Regions from separate parts of the Homo sapiens genome. Here region 1 is linked to region 2. Evidence: promoter capture Hi-C in 16 types of primary human blood cells and fetal thymus (Javierre and others, 2016). All regions are on one chromosome and are shown on one strand. The core of a region is centred on a gene start or on the middle of the fragment in contact, and the rest is flanking DNA. Distances in the headings are between cores, read along the strand shown.

The links. Contacts are between HindIII fragments. The CHiCAGO score rates a contact against its expected background, and 5 or more counts as called.
Region 1: a fragment that was not itself captured here is called in contact with the fragment with the promoter of SPTB in region 2 in 5 of 17 cell types (M0 macrophages, total CD4 T cells, M2 macrophages and 2 more); the score reaches 7.8 in M0 macrophages.

What each region holds. Positions count from the first base shown.
Region 1 is chr14:64,667,534-64,674,795 of GRCh38, reverse strand. No RefSeq gene overlaps it. Among named protein-coding and RNA genes, the nearest start is that of PLEKHG3, 33 kb to the left of the region's middle. The HindIII fragment of the contact is 178 bases long and covers 3,913-4,090 here.
Region 2 is chr14:64,875,761-64,883,158 of GRCh38, reverse strand. SPTB (spectrin beta, erythrocytic) reads left to right here and starts at 3,252. Exons shown (of 36, transcript NM_001355436.2): 1 at 3,252-3,367. It overlaps LOC105370534 (a long non-coding RNA gene), which reads left to right. Exons shown (of 3, transcript XR_943942.3): 3 at 1,771-2,278. RefSeq lists silencers at 2,632-2,711, 2,782-2,921, 2,972-3,141. The HindIII fragment of the contact is 2,561 bases long and covers 1,476-4,036 here.

The DNA.
Region 1 (7,262 bases), core at 2,752-5,251, 210 kb after region 2:
TTGCCCAGGCTGGAGTGTAGTGGCAAGATTTCAGCTCACTGCAACCTTGACTTCCCAGGTTCTTGTGATCCTCCCACTTCAGCCTCCCGAGTAGTTGGGACTACAGGCACAACCGCCACACCCAGCTAACATTCTGTATTTTTATAGAGACAGAGTTTTGTCATGTTGCCCAGGCTGGTCTTGAACTAGGCTCAAGCAATCCACCTACATGAACCTCTCAAAACGCTAGGATTTCAGGCTTGAGCCACCGCGCCCAGCTTGTGCTAAACTTTTAAACGTTATTTCCTTTACTATCTCAGCTTCCTCCTCCTCCACTCAGCCTTCTCTGCGAATTGCTTTATATGGACAAAACTGGGACCAGCAGCAACCTCCACAGCTGCCCCAACCCCACCACCAGACCCTTGTGTGACAACAGTCCCCAGGGTCATGGGTCTGGATCGTTGACATTCTAATCTTATTGGTTCTCTGCAACACTTTCTTTGGGTTATTTCTCTCTTTTTTTTCCCCCACCTCTTAGGACACAGAAGCTCTTTCTTCAGATCCCCCCCACTTATAGCCCCCTCCTCTCCTCCTCACCTGTTGGCCCTCTGCCCTGGCAGCCTGGTTCCCCAGGGAATCCATGCACAAGGGCCTCCCTCCCTTCCATGCACTCCTCCCCTTCTGCACAATCTTCCTCCTCTCTTCTCATCGTCTGTCTTCTATCACCTTGTTTTCTGTGCCCAGGCCCTCTCGTGATCTCATTTGCCACAGATACACCCTGCTGCCCAGCTCCTGCCCGCAGGCATCATTTGATCGATGGGTTTGAGGTTTGTTGACAGTTGGGGTTTTTCTCTCTCAGTGAGGAAGAAGCAAGAAACCTCAACACTGCAATTTCCTCAACTCCCAGTGACGGTGACAAATTCTGAGGCTCCAGGGCGGGGGCTGTGTCTTCACATGCCCTGTGGAGTGTTGTCCTCACAGTGGTAAATAAATAAGGAGGTGAAAAGGTAAGACAAGAGGGAGCAGCATCTGTGCTTAGGGGCAGGGCTCAATTTGTCTGATGTGGGAGGACCTCAAAGGTGTCTCTCTTCTCACCTAGGCCAGACATTTGCAAGCTGACTGCCCTAAAGGAGCTGTACACACCTTCTTCATCCACCATGTGCCTTAGCAAAGGGTCACACCCAGGGAACTGAAGCTCTCTCTGTGTCTCTAGGGGTGGGAAGGCAGTGTCTGTGGTTATCCACCTCCATTCAGAGCCAAGTGAGTTCAGACTGCTGGGTTCTCGTCCTAAACTCTTTCACCGACTACCCCTGAGGCCTTGAGCAAGTGACCTAACCTCCTCCTCGTGCTTCTGTTTCCCCATCTTTACAATGACAGTCGTCATGGGGACAAATTCACTGGGTTGTAGTACAGATGGAATGAGAGCAAGCCGTCGCGCAGAAGACGTGCTCAACAAATGGAAACCACTGCTATCATTTTCATTCTTATTATCTCAATTTAGGAAACAAGGATCCCGACATTGCAAGCTATTCCAGGTGAAGCTAAAAAGAAGATAATCCCCAAGTCTCTGGGTAAAGAAACTCACTGCCACCCTCAATCAAATCAAAGCCAGATTCCGTGATGTTGGTAGTGAAGGGGAAGTCCCCCCAGGGGTGGGGTGGAGTGAGGTGTGGCTTTCCTTACCCATTGGTGGTACCAGTGAGACGAGGGAGAAATCTCCCAGGAAAGGTGAGCCTTGGAGGGCAAAACACAGCCAAGAGATCTAACCGCTTTTCCCATGTGGAGAGTCTCCTGCCAGCCAGAGCCAATCTCAGGAAATATGAGTTCGATTTTATTAAGGAAACCAACACGTTTCCTTCTGTCTAATGTAGCCTCTGTGTTATTCACATTGTTGGCTCCCAGGATGTGAAATGTCATCCTAGTACAGAACCCAGAAAAGAGTGGGCTGAATGTCTCTTTAGAGAGCTTTAGCCAACTATTTAAAAAAGTGGAGTCTACCTTCCTAACAGAGTTAATAATCACATGCCTTTATAGGAAGCAGTAGTAATAGTTGTGGTAATAATAACAGCTGACTTTTTCTCTTAGCAGTTGCAGTATAAGGTTCATAACCATCCTGTTAAGATGGTATTATTTATAGTCATCACTCAGTATCTTGCTGGGATTGGCTCCAGCACCCCCTTGGATACCAAAATCCACGGATACTCAAGTTTCTGATATAAAATGGTATAGTATTTGCATATAACCTAGGCACATCCTTCCATATACTTTTTTGTTTCTTTGTTTGTTTGTAACAGAGTCTTACTCCTTCGCCCAGGCTGGAGTGCAGTGTCATGATCATAGCTCACTGCAGCCTCAAACTCCTGTGCTAAAGCAATCCTCCTGCCTCAGCCTCCTGAGTAGCTGAGACTACAGGTGCACCACAGCACCAGGCTGATTTTTTTTTTAAGTTCTTATAGAGACAGGGTCTTACTAATGTTTACGAGGCTGATCTCAAACTCCTGGGGCCTTAGGCGATCCTCCTGCCTTGGCCTCCCAAAGTACCGTTATTACAGATATGAGACACTGTGCCTGGCCAACTTTCCTATACTTTAAATCATCTCTAGATAACTTATCATGTCAAATATTAATACAATGTAAATTCCATGCAAATGGTTGTTATACTATATTGTTTTTATCTGTATTATTTTTGTTGTATTGTTGTTTTTATTGTTGGGTTTTTTTCAATATTTTCTATCTGTGGTTGGTTGAATCCACAGATGTGGAAACTGTGGATATGGAAAGCTGACTGTATTAGAATTTTATAGAACAAGAAACTAAGGCTTCATTAATTTAAATAGCCTGCTAGGATCATAAAGATGGGAGGCATTCTCCAACCCTTGTTTGATTCTGGATTTGAACTTGGGTCAGCTTGAATTCAACGCCAGAGTGCCTAACAGTATTTTGTCTCTTAGAGGAGTCTAGATTGCAACTGCATTTCAACCTAGTAAGAAAAGCATGTATAAGATCTGCTTTCTTTCTGATCTCCTCTGGGTATTTGTTTTCTTATGAAAGTCTGAGAAAGTCGCAAAGTTCAGCCCCAAAGAATGAACAAGTGGTTCATTTCTGCCCCCTAGAGGAGGTAAGGAAGGTCATGGTTAAAATGAGTGTTCAGAATCGCAATAGATCCAGCCCTGCAATAGAGCCAAACCTAAAAACAAACTACTTTCAGTTCATGAAAGGGAGGTGATAATGGGTTAGGGATTATCTGGATCAAGAGTGAGAACAGTGTATCAGGGTCCTGCCTGGATATATACTGGATATATATATATATATAGTGTGTGTGGAGATATATATATATATATAGTGTGTGTGTGTGTGTGTGTGTGTGTGTGTGTGTGTATATATATACAGCTTGCATATATATATATACAGCTTGCATATATATATATACAGCTTGCATATATATATACAGCTTGCATATATATATACAGCTTGCATATATATATATATACAGCTTGCATATATATATATATACAGCTTGCATATATATATATATATATACAGCTTGCATATATATATATATACAGCTTGCATATATATATATATATATATACAGCTTGCATATATATATATATATATACAGCTTGCAAATATATATATATATATTTACAAGTATATATATATATATATATATATATATATATATATATATATATACACTGTTCTATCAGGGTCCTGAATAGACTCATTCTAGTCTAGTATTCAGACTAGAACTTTCATCTTTAACATGTGCCCCAAATGATTCTTTCACTAAGGCAACTTTGAGAAACAGGTGCATATAATTTATTCATCCAGCAAGGGCTTGAATAACACCTTCCATCCACAAGCCACTGTTACTAAGGCATTTGCTGGACCCCAAGGGAGTGGAGTCCACATCCCTGTCCTGAAGAAGCTTGGTCAATTACACTATCTCTCAGGGCCTTGCCTTTGTTATTGAGAAAATGGCTCATCTCTAAATGGTGTGAGAGCCAGGAGACCCATGTTGGACGTGCAGACAGGGTGCACTTTACTTAATCTCCTTGGACCTCAGTTTCCTTGTCTACAACATCAGAGGGTGAATACTCATCAAGCTTCCTCCTGTGGCAAGATTCTGAAGTTCCCAGGCCCTGTGGAGAGCGTACAGGGAAACCTTACTTAGGTGACCTGCTTAGGAGTCTGGTCTCCATGACTGTGCAGATCCACCTCCTGCCAAATGGCTCATGACAATCCCAGGAGCAGGCTGTGGTCTCCCTGATCCTGAGGTTCAGAGCTTTTGGTGTTCCCGTCACTGGCATTCACGCCACACTGTAGGAGCCTTCTTTTCATTGATGTAAACTCTGTTCACAAAAAGGGTCTGGGGAAAATAAAGTTGATTTGGAAAAAGAAATTTCTCTAGAAACCCAAATAAGGCTTCTTATTTCTAGAAACCCCCAAATAAGACTTCCTGAAATGTGGAGTCAGATGAACCAGCCTTTAAATCCTAGCTCTGTTACTCAATAGCTGTGTGATTTGAGGCAAGTCATCCATTTTAAACTTGGTCTCTTCATCTGTGGAATGGACATAAAAAGAGTACCCAAAGCTGGGTGTGGTGGCATGCACCTGTGTTCTCAGTGACTTGGCAAGAGGCTGAGGGAGGAAGGTGACTTGAGCCCAGGAATTTGAGGCCGTAGTGCACTACAATCATGCCTATGAATTGCCACTGCATTCCGGCTTGGGCAACATAGTGAGACCTCATCTCTAAAAATATATAGGTATAATAGAATAGTTTGTATCTCACTGAGTCATGGTGAAGATTAAATGAGACTAGACTAATACCTGGTGCATAATAGGTATGCTGAAATATTTCCTTTTTTTTTTTTTTTTTTTTTTGAGACGGAGTCTCGCCCTGTCACCCAGGCTAGAGTGTCGTGGCGCGATCTCGGCTCACTGCAAGCTCCACCTCCTGGGTTCACGCCATTCTCCTGCCTCAGCCTCCCGAGTAGCTGGGATTACAGGCGCCTACCACCACGCTCGGCTAATTTTTTTGTATTTTTTAGTAGATACGGGGTTTCACCATGTTAGCCAGGATGGTCTCGATCTCCTGACCTCGTGATCCGCCTGCCTCGGCCTCCCAAAGTGCTGGGATTACGGGCATGAGCCACTGCGCCCAGCCTATTTCCTATTGTTATTACGATTAATACTGCTGATGCTAGTTTTACCTTCAGAGACTGTTACAATTGGAAAATAAAGAAACAGTTCATAGTCAGGACCCCACCCAAGGATTTAGCACCCAAATCACTCCAGAGAACTCCAGCTCGACCTTGGCAGTCATCCAGGATGCCACATGTCCTCTCACTCTTGTTTAAAGATGTCCTAATAGAGCCAAACTTCTTTTGCCAAATTTCTCAAAATGAGTCCTTTAGTGGATCCTTGGGCTTATAGTACCACTACCACATCATCCAAGGGGCATGGCCATCTGGGTTTGAGGTTACAGAAAAAGAGAGGGGCCTAGGACCAGGGCCAAGGCAAGCTCATAGACACTCCTTGCAGGAGCAAGGTCAACAAGCAAGACCCATGAGGACTGAAATAAGGATCTACTTGACACTCAGATTGACTGCATTTGGAGAGCCAATAATTGCTGCCTTTGCCCTTATAATAAACTACAGCTTTTGAAGAAAATTTAAAAACAAAATAAAATCCACAAAAACATGCAGGCATTGCTGGGCAGCAGCAAACAAACATACTGGATTGTTCAGAAAGACTGCTAAGATCTTAAGAGCAAATTGTTTATAAACTGCAGAGAAAAGTTGTAATAAGAACTGGCTTCAGCACTAAAACACAGCTTTTGATTCTCCACCATCTCACTCCAACCCAAGAGAATAGCAGCAGCTGTTAGGTGTAAGGGAGCCTGTGGGCCTATTTAGGGGTGAGGGTAAGGTATAGAGGGGCACAGGCTCTCATCTCACAATTAACAAAGGGCCCCACATTCTGGCTTTTGACATTAGCTCCAGATGACAGGTCTGAAAGAAGCAATGTTCAGGATAGAACTCTCAACTTGTGTTCCTCACTGCCTGTAGAGCACTGTAAAATATTTAAAATGTACCCTGGAATTATCATGCAAAAACACATTACCTTTACTATTTTTTTCTGTGATAGAAGTATTAATTTGTCAAATGTAAACATTTAAAATACACCACAGTAGCATGCACCTGTGGTTCCAGCTACTTGGGAGGCTGAGGTGGGAGGATTGCTTGAGCCCAGGAGGTTGAGGCTTCAGTGAACCATGATCGCGCTACTGCACTCCAGCCTGGGTGACAGAGTGAGATTCTGTCTCAAAACAAACAAACAAACAAACACACAAACAAAAAACACCACCGCTCTCACCATCTTTTGGTGGGGGGTGTTGGCATTTCTTCATATTTTAATATACTAGGAACCTCAAAAAAATGGAAGTAACTGTGGGTCACTCTTGTCTTCTGAGAGGCCCTGGCACAGACCTGGGGATGGGAGTGAAGAATCAGGGCAGCCCTGGATGTAACTGTCTCTCCTGCAGAAGTGGTTGCTCCCTAGTCCAAACAGGTTTTTATCAGAATCTCTTTACTTCTCCATAAGAGGTAAAGATCAGTCCTCACCTTCTCATTCACCCACGGAAGAGACGCATTGCAAGGACAAACCCTGAAAATGTTGCTGGTCCAACCAAACTGACAGGGCCCCTGAGTATATCCACAAGAGGAGTGCCTGGCACCAGCTCTACACCCATCTTAGCAGGGTATGAACCACAGACAGCACTTTCCTGGGGGGAGGGATTCTTGACTGTTCTACACCATGTCCCAGAGAATACCAACAAGTTTTCTTTTACCTCTTATGTAAACTTCCAAAGCCTATGATAAAATAAATCAAAATTCTAACCCAAGCATTCACCATCTGCCCCATCACCATATAATTAAGATGATGTACTTAGCCTTGAAATACAGAACTTTTCTGTTAGCCTGTCACAAAAGGTTCACAGTTTCCCTCTCTGGCTTGGATATGGTTTGGATATTTGGCTCCTCCAAATCTCATATTGAAATGTGATCCCAGTGATGAAGGTGGGGCCTAGTAGGAGGTGTTTGGGTCATGGGGGCAGATCCCTTATGAATGGCTTGGTGCCCTCCCCATGGTAATGAGTCCTCACTCTATGAGTTTGTAGAAGATGTGATTGTTTAAGACAATGTGGCACCTGCCCCGCACCTTGCTCCCTCTCTCACCATGTGACAGGCCTCCTCCCCCTTTGCCTTCCATCCATG
Region 2 (7,398 bases), core at 2,003-4,502:
GTATCTCTGGATTTCTTGAACATTGTTGGAACACTGATCCCCTTTTCCTTATTTTCCTGTGCTTTTAGATGCCTGTTTCAGACATATCTTCTAATGAAATTTGGGGTAGAAGAGAAGCTAAATGCGTGTATTCAATCCACCATCTCCATCCAATCTTTACTTTTTAATTTATTTATCATCTCTACTTATTATTAAACAATACAAGCTTATTGTGAAAAACTCAAAGACTACAGAAATGGAAAGTGAAAGTTCCCTCTTATGTTAGATGATTCTAACATAAGTCTCAACTTATATCTTCTTGGCCTCACCTGTTGGTTTCAGCTAGACCTGAGTAGACAGTTCTGTGAAGGTTTACCCCCCACTCTCTGGCTGTCAACATCTATTCTCAAATGCACACCTTCTCTTCTGGCCCCAGAACTCTTCCAAATCTGCAGACTGCCTATGTGGAGCTTGCTGGGTAGCTCGGAAGTGTAGGTTTTCAACATGGGTGGGAGACCAGTGGGGGCAGTCCTTTGTCCAACCAGGATGAGGGTTAATCTCCTATCCTTCACATAGACAATTCCAAGAGGTATTCTATACTCTTCTGAGGAGGTCCCTCCAGACGTGATCCCTATTGCCCACAATGATGACCTTGATAACGAACATATGTATGTGTTTCCTTCTCCCTTCTTTTTTTTTTTTTTTTTTTGAAACAGAGTCTTGCTTTGTCACCCAGGTGGGAGTGCAGTGGCGTGATCTTGGCTCACTGCAGCCTATGCCTCCCAGGTTCAAGTGATTCTCCTGCCTCAGCTTCCCAAGTAGCTGGGATTACAGGTGCGCACCACCACACCCAGCTAATTTTTGTGTTTTTAGTAGAGATAGGGTTTTGCCATGTTGGCCAGGCTTGTCTTGAACTCCTGACCTCAAGTGATCCGCCTGCCTCGGCCTCCCAAAGTACTGGGATTACAGGTGTGAGTCACCATGCCCAACCTTTCTCCCTTCTTTTATTCTCCCAATTTCTCATTCCTGGCCACAGAGATCTGTTCCCCTTTCCCTATTATTTGACAATGCCCTTTCCTCACTGCAAGCCTAAATTTCCTCTCTTCCTCAGTTCTGATTTATCATTTCACTGTAACTCTATTAGCTGTAAAGCATTTGGGGATGCTGTCAGGATAACATGCTCTGTAGCAAATGAGGTTGTATTGAATTATTTAGCTTTCAGCTAAAGTGGAGATAACTAAAGCAGCTGAGCTGGTTTGTAAAATGTTGGGGTAATCTGTCTGCTGATTTGGAGTTTTATCATATTAATTTTTTCTTATGGTTGAAAATTATAAATTTTAAGGCTACAAAGAAAAATATGTATGCAACTATTCAGTTCAGTGCCACAGACCTATAGCTAAGGAATTATCTGGCTTGCATAGTATATAATTACGTAGCTGCAGAACCACCATTCTAGAGAACCATGAATTTATCTAATAAGTTTATTCATACAAGCTTTTAAAAAACCATAAATACATAATTTCCCTCCATTTTTTTCTAACAAAAATAGATGAAGGATTTCTTCTTGAGATATATAATAGTCTCAGCTTTTGAAGTTGGCCTGTTTTTCTTGAGCTTTCCTTGCCAGAATTTGACTTTTAAACATTTTTTTTCACAAAACAGAACTTTCTCTTTTTAACTCAGTAATAGAAAAATGCATTCTTAAATGTTGTCAACAAAGGGGAGGAGGGGATCACTGCGAATCTATCGATGACCATGAATGTTTTTGTATCCTCTTTCCCATATTACTAGTGTCTCTTGGAAAATTGAGCTGTAATAAGGATCCAGCCAAGAGGAGGGTGGAGTGAAGAATTCTGTGGCTCTGTAATACCTGGGGCGTTTGTCCCACTCAGCACATCTCAGTGTCTAAATACCCACCCTCAAGAAGTGGGACTGCAGCAGGAAGTGAAGTATCTTTGCATATGTTCAATATATAAACTAAACTCGAACATCTGGCAAACACCCCTTTCCTGGGTGAATTCTGGAAAACAGCACAATTATAATCCCAAGCAAATAACTCAGGAGTAAGACTGTTCCCTTGTTAAGAACACCAGGCAGCATCAGTAAAAGTTAAAACTTCTTCTGCATCTATGCGCTTTTAATCTCCACGGCCATTTCCATAATACCTGAGATTACCTGCGTTGATAGCTGGTGAGAAATCATCCCAGGCACCGCAGGTGGAGAAAAGAGATGAAAGCTACCTCAAGGCGTACACGTAAACCTTACTGAACAATGACCTTGATCGTTAGAAAGTCAAGAAAATGTACTGCCTTGCAAGCTGCCGGTGTTCTATTGAGTTTCTCTCCGGGGGCAACTCGGAGATGCCTTTTTGGCACCATCGGTTCTAGTATTTCCTCTGGCCTGCTGCGCCGCGCCTCATCCAGGCTTGTAGTGAGGCACCCCCACTCGCCCGGAGACCCGGGCCGGCCAGGAGGTGCCAGTGGGCAGGTGTGGCAGCCTGCCTGTTGATTACAGTCCCTACAATGTGCGAGCTCCTTGGGACTGCAGGCTGCGCGCCGCCAGCTTTGCCTGGTTCGTCCTGATTACACTAGGTTTTCGGGCAGAAACAGCGACACTGAGCTCGGGCTGGGGGTGGGGCCCTCGGGCCCAGTGCCCGCCCCCTGCCCTCCCACCGCCAGCCGAGAGAAGCCCGCCCGGGAGCGCGCTTTCTAATGCACCAGCCCCCGGGAACAATCTGTCCCTCCCAAACCCGCCACGGCGGGGGTTCACCTCCCGGGTACCCGCCGCGCCCACCCTATGGCCTAAATGTCTTTTCATATATTTTAAAAACTGAACTGTGTGCAGTGGGGATGCAGGGCGGGAAAGGCTGGAGGGCTCATTTTCGCCACCAGGCTTGCCTCTCCGGGCGCACGAATTAGGCCCGAGCTAGAGTCCAACCCCCTTCCCGCCTCAGGGGGCTCGGGGTGGCGCGGGGTTAGGGGCAATGAACGACGATGGAGGCGCCCCAGGCTCAGCGGCGGGCGGGGAGGCAGAGGCGGGTTCCAGGAGCCGGGCTGAGGCCCGGCAGGTGCCCCCAGGCGCGGAGGCTGATTGGCAGGTGCGTGAGTGGGTGGGGAAGGCGGGGGCTGGGCTTGGCGCTGCGGGAGGCTGCGGCCCCGCCTCCCCGCCCCCGCCGCGGGACTATCTGGTCCCGGCAGCAGCGATGTCCCCCGGCAGGAATGTCCCTCCTCAGATAATGTTATTTATATCTCTGGGCGGGTCCGCGGCTCGGCAGCACCAGGCGCCCGGCGGCCGCTGTGCCAGGAGCCCCGCGCTGCCCTCCTCCCCCTGCGCCGCCGCCGCCGCCACCCCCGGGCTCGGGGTGGCCCCCGCTTCAGTCCCAGGGCAGGTGAGTCCCAGGAGGGCCCGGCGGCCAAGGGAGCTGGGTGCGGGTGCGCAAGGCTGGGACGCGCGGCGCCAGCTCAAAGGAGCGCTGGGCCCAGGGGGCGCCTGACGCGCAGGGCCCAGAGGACCGGGTGGGAGTCCAGCCCCGGTTGTCGGGCGTGGGGTGGGAGGGGTGCGGGGCCCGGGAAGCCCGGCAGCTGCGGCAAAGATCATCCCGGGACGCGGGAACGCGCGCGGGCGTCCGAGGCACTTGGTGCTAGCTTTGGAGAGCGGGATCCCGGAGAGTCCGTCACCCCGGGGCGCAGGGAGAGGGTGACGGGGGTGCGTGTTCTCGTCCGCCTTCTCCAGGACCCCGGCCTGGGAGCGAAGGGGATTGCGCCTCTAGCCCGTCCGACCGCAGCGCTGCTCTCTGCCTTTTTTTGTCCGGCTTCTCAGCCTTGTGGCCGCTCATATCCCTCTTCTGGGGAACTTGGCTGCGCTCTCCTCGGGCCACCCAGCGCCCAGGCAGGAGGGACAGGTGAGGGCAGCAGAGGGGGCCGGGCCTCCGGGTGCTGGGAGCCACCCAGAGAGTGACCCCGTGTAGACCGAGGGAGGAAAGATCCTAGTGCCCCAAGCCATACTTCAAGGACCCCTAGTCTTCCTCTCCCAAAGAGTTCCTCTCTTCCTCTAAGCTTCTCCGGGCTACTCTACCCTCACCCTCCTCTCCAGTTTCCCCTCTTCCTCTAACTTGGTCTTGAGAAATAGCAGAAAGTGGGAGAAATAACAGAAGCTGTAAAACAATCCCCAACTCCCACCAACTCATCCGTACTTCCCAGGCTGGGGAAGCAGCTGCGGGGCTGGAGTGCTGTTTCCCTGACAACGAGCTTCAGGTAGGGCCTTGAGTTACAGCCTATTAATATCCAAACCACTGTTTTCAGTGAGCAATTAGAGGCGCCAGCCAGGAGTAAGGAAAATGAAAAGAAGCCACTGTTTTTTGTACATCTAAATTTTAGATGCATCAGATTGGGGGGTGGGGTGGGGGGATATAGTGACAGCCTTTTTGTACTGAGAATTTCTGTGGGGAGAGACTAGGCTGTCACCTCCAGGTAGGAGGCAGTCATGCAAAACCCCTGCCTGGAGGTAGTCACGATCCGTATTTTAGTTTCTAAGGGAAGAGATTCAGGCGGCTCCCTAATGAGAGGAGTCTGCAAATCAAAGATTTTTAGGCACAGCTCAACTGTCCACTGTCCTATCCTTAGCTTCACAGATGGCTCTGAATTTTATTCTAGAATTCCCTCTTCGCCCACCCCTTCCCCCACTATAACCCAAGGCAGGTCATTTCTTATTTTAGGATTCAGCTTTTATTCTTTTGCTCTGAGTCCCAGGTTCCAAAATGCAATTGAAAACACCTTTTTTTTTCTAAGTGCAAAATGATTGTTAATGTATGCTGAATGTCCAGCACCTGACACAGCTAGGCCTGTGCTTGCCTGGAGGCTTGCAGGCTAGCCAGGAAAGGGAATGTTAAACTTACATTGAAGAAGAGCCCACCAGCCTTGAAACCCACTAACTCCAGAGGTGGGTCATTTATAAAGAATTTTATCAAAAACTCTAGAGTAAAGCACCATTGAAAGACATAAACGCTCATGAAAATGTGGCTTTCAGACCCCTTAGCTGTTGCTCTTAGCTTTATCAGTGCCCCAGTGGCAATGATGGGGATGAGCCAGTCCTATTGATCTTGAGTTCTGGGAAGACTCAGAGTCCACTCATGGAATTGTAAGCACCCAAGGACTCCCAGGCATCCAGGATGGGCCTTGTAGCACAGGCGTATCAAGTTCTCCTGAGCGGCTTGCCCAGAAGAGAGTTGGGATACCACCTTTGGCTCTGATCAATGCTTCTTCCAAGTGTTCTGAAGGTGTCCTATAGCAGAACGCCTGCTAGATGACTAGTTTTGGGGGTGAAGGTATGACAGGAGCAAGACTCCTACCTGGGATCACATTTGGCAAAATAAAAATGAGTATTTTAGGCAAGCTAGGTGTGAATGACAGTTTTGAACTAAAGTCAAAATTTGACAGGTCTGCTGCAGCTCTGGAAACAAACTGTTTTTGGTAAATAATAATAGCTTTTATTCTGTCTTTTATGTTGTTGTACCCAGTACCTGGATGGTAGTGGAACCTCAGTTAACCTTTGTTGAATGAATGAGGAAACCAACAAATGAATGCTCAGCGTTTTCTCTATATTATCCAATTTAATTGTCATGGTAACTCTATAAGGTAGCTCATATCAACATTTTACAAGTAAGGAAACAGGTTCAGGAAGATTAAATAACTTGCCTCATATTACCCAGCTAATGAGAGATGGGTCCAGGATTCAAACTCAGTTTGTTTGGTTCTACCTTCTTTTTAAGGTTAGACACTCAGCAGGGAATATAAAGTACAAGTTGGGAAGATTTGACTGTTTGTCTTCTAGCTTCATAATCTTCATTCCCAGGACCTCAGGTAATAGTTCTGCTTATATCAGAGGAGCTTAAAAAATATTATCTGAAGATAATATTGGGCATTTATTTGCTCAGAGGTTCTTAGCCTTACCCATTATTTTCAGGTCATTGTTTCAAGGACAGAACTATAATTTTGGCAGGAGTCAAAGCATGGATTTTTTTTTTTTTTTTTAAAGAACAGATTTTCCTTTCAGTCCTGGAAGTGGCCAGGAGGGCTTGATGATACATAGGGACAGTGTGATAGGACAGAGGATGGCTATAAAAAATTCATGAGGCAAACACTATTGGAGAGGGAAGGGATTCTGGAGGTCACTGAACCCAGCCTTCCATGTGCATACTTACTGGCTTAAAGGCAAGACCTAACTGAATGTACCTGATCATTGATGTGTAGCTATGGCACCCACACTTCTTATTACTCGAGTTCATTTCTTTCCTGTCTCACTCTCAAGGCCAATATGGTTTACTTCCTGAAGTTCTGCCTAACCAAACTACTGAGATTTTATTTCCTTTGGAGGAGATTATGAGAGGATGTGTTTTTAATATCTAGTCCTTTCATTTTAGTGCAATCTTAAAGAAAAGGTACTGAGGATAAGCAGGAGAGAAGGCAGTCTCAGGCTTTAAACTCTAAACTGTTCTATAATCTCCCCCATTGCTTGTAAGGTGTACACATGTATACATTTTAAAACAATAGTTATACACATTACGATCTAGAGACAAGAAATCTTAAGTAATTATGTCCATTTTTGGGGGGCATGGGGAAGGACTTTAGAGAACTGTTGAGACCGTCAGATACGTGTTTTAACCTAAACCCAATCACCAAATTGTTCTTGAAGAGCAGCACTTTAATTTCAAAATCAAACACAAAATTTTACTGTCTGCTCAAGACCTGAAAAGGTAGGAAACATGACCAGTGGGAGATTTAAAGTAGAGATGGGGTTTCACCATGCTGGTCAGGCTGGTCTCAGGAGTTCGAGACCAGCCTGGCCAAACCTATCTCTACTAAAAATACAAAAATTAGCCAGGTGTGGTGGTGGGCACCTGTAATCCCAGCTACTCGGGAGGCTGAGACAGGAAAATTGCTCGAACCTGGGCGGTAGAGGTTGCAGTGAACCGACATCGCGCCACTGCACTCCAGCCTGGACAATAAAGTGAGATTGTGTCTCAAACAAACAAACAAAAAATTGATATAAAAAAGCCAGGTATAGTGGCTTATGCCTATAATCCCAGTTACTTCGGAGGCTAAGGGAGGAGGATTGCTTGAGCCAGGGAGTTAGAGAGGCTGAACTATGATTGTGCCACTGTACTCCAGCCTGGACAACAGAATGAGGTGCCATCTCTAATTCATGAATTAATTAAAAAGTGATTTAAAATATGTTTCTTTGTTATGGAATTTTAAAATTATAGAATTTAAAAAAATAACCTGAGACCTACAGATTAACATTTATCAATGAACTTGGGAAGATCAAGAGTGAAAATAACTGTGCTATGTGGGCTGATGAGAAATTTGATTATATAATGAGGACTGGCAAGGAAGTTCATGGATACTGGGTTCTGAAACCATA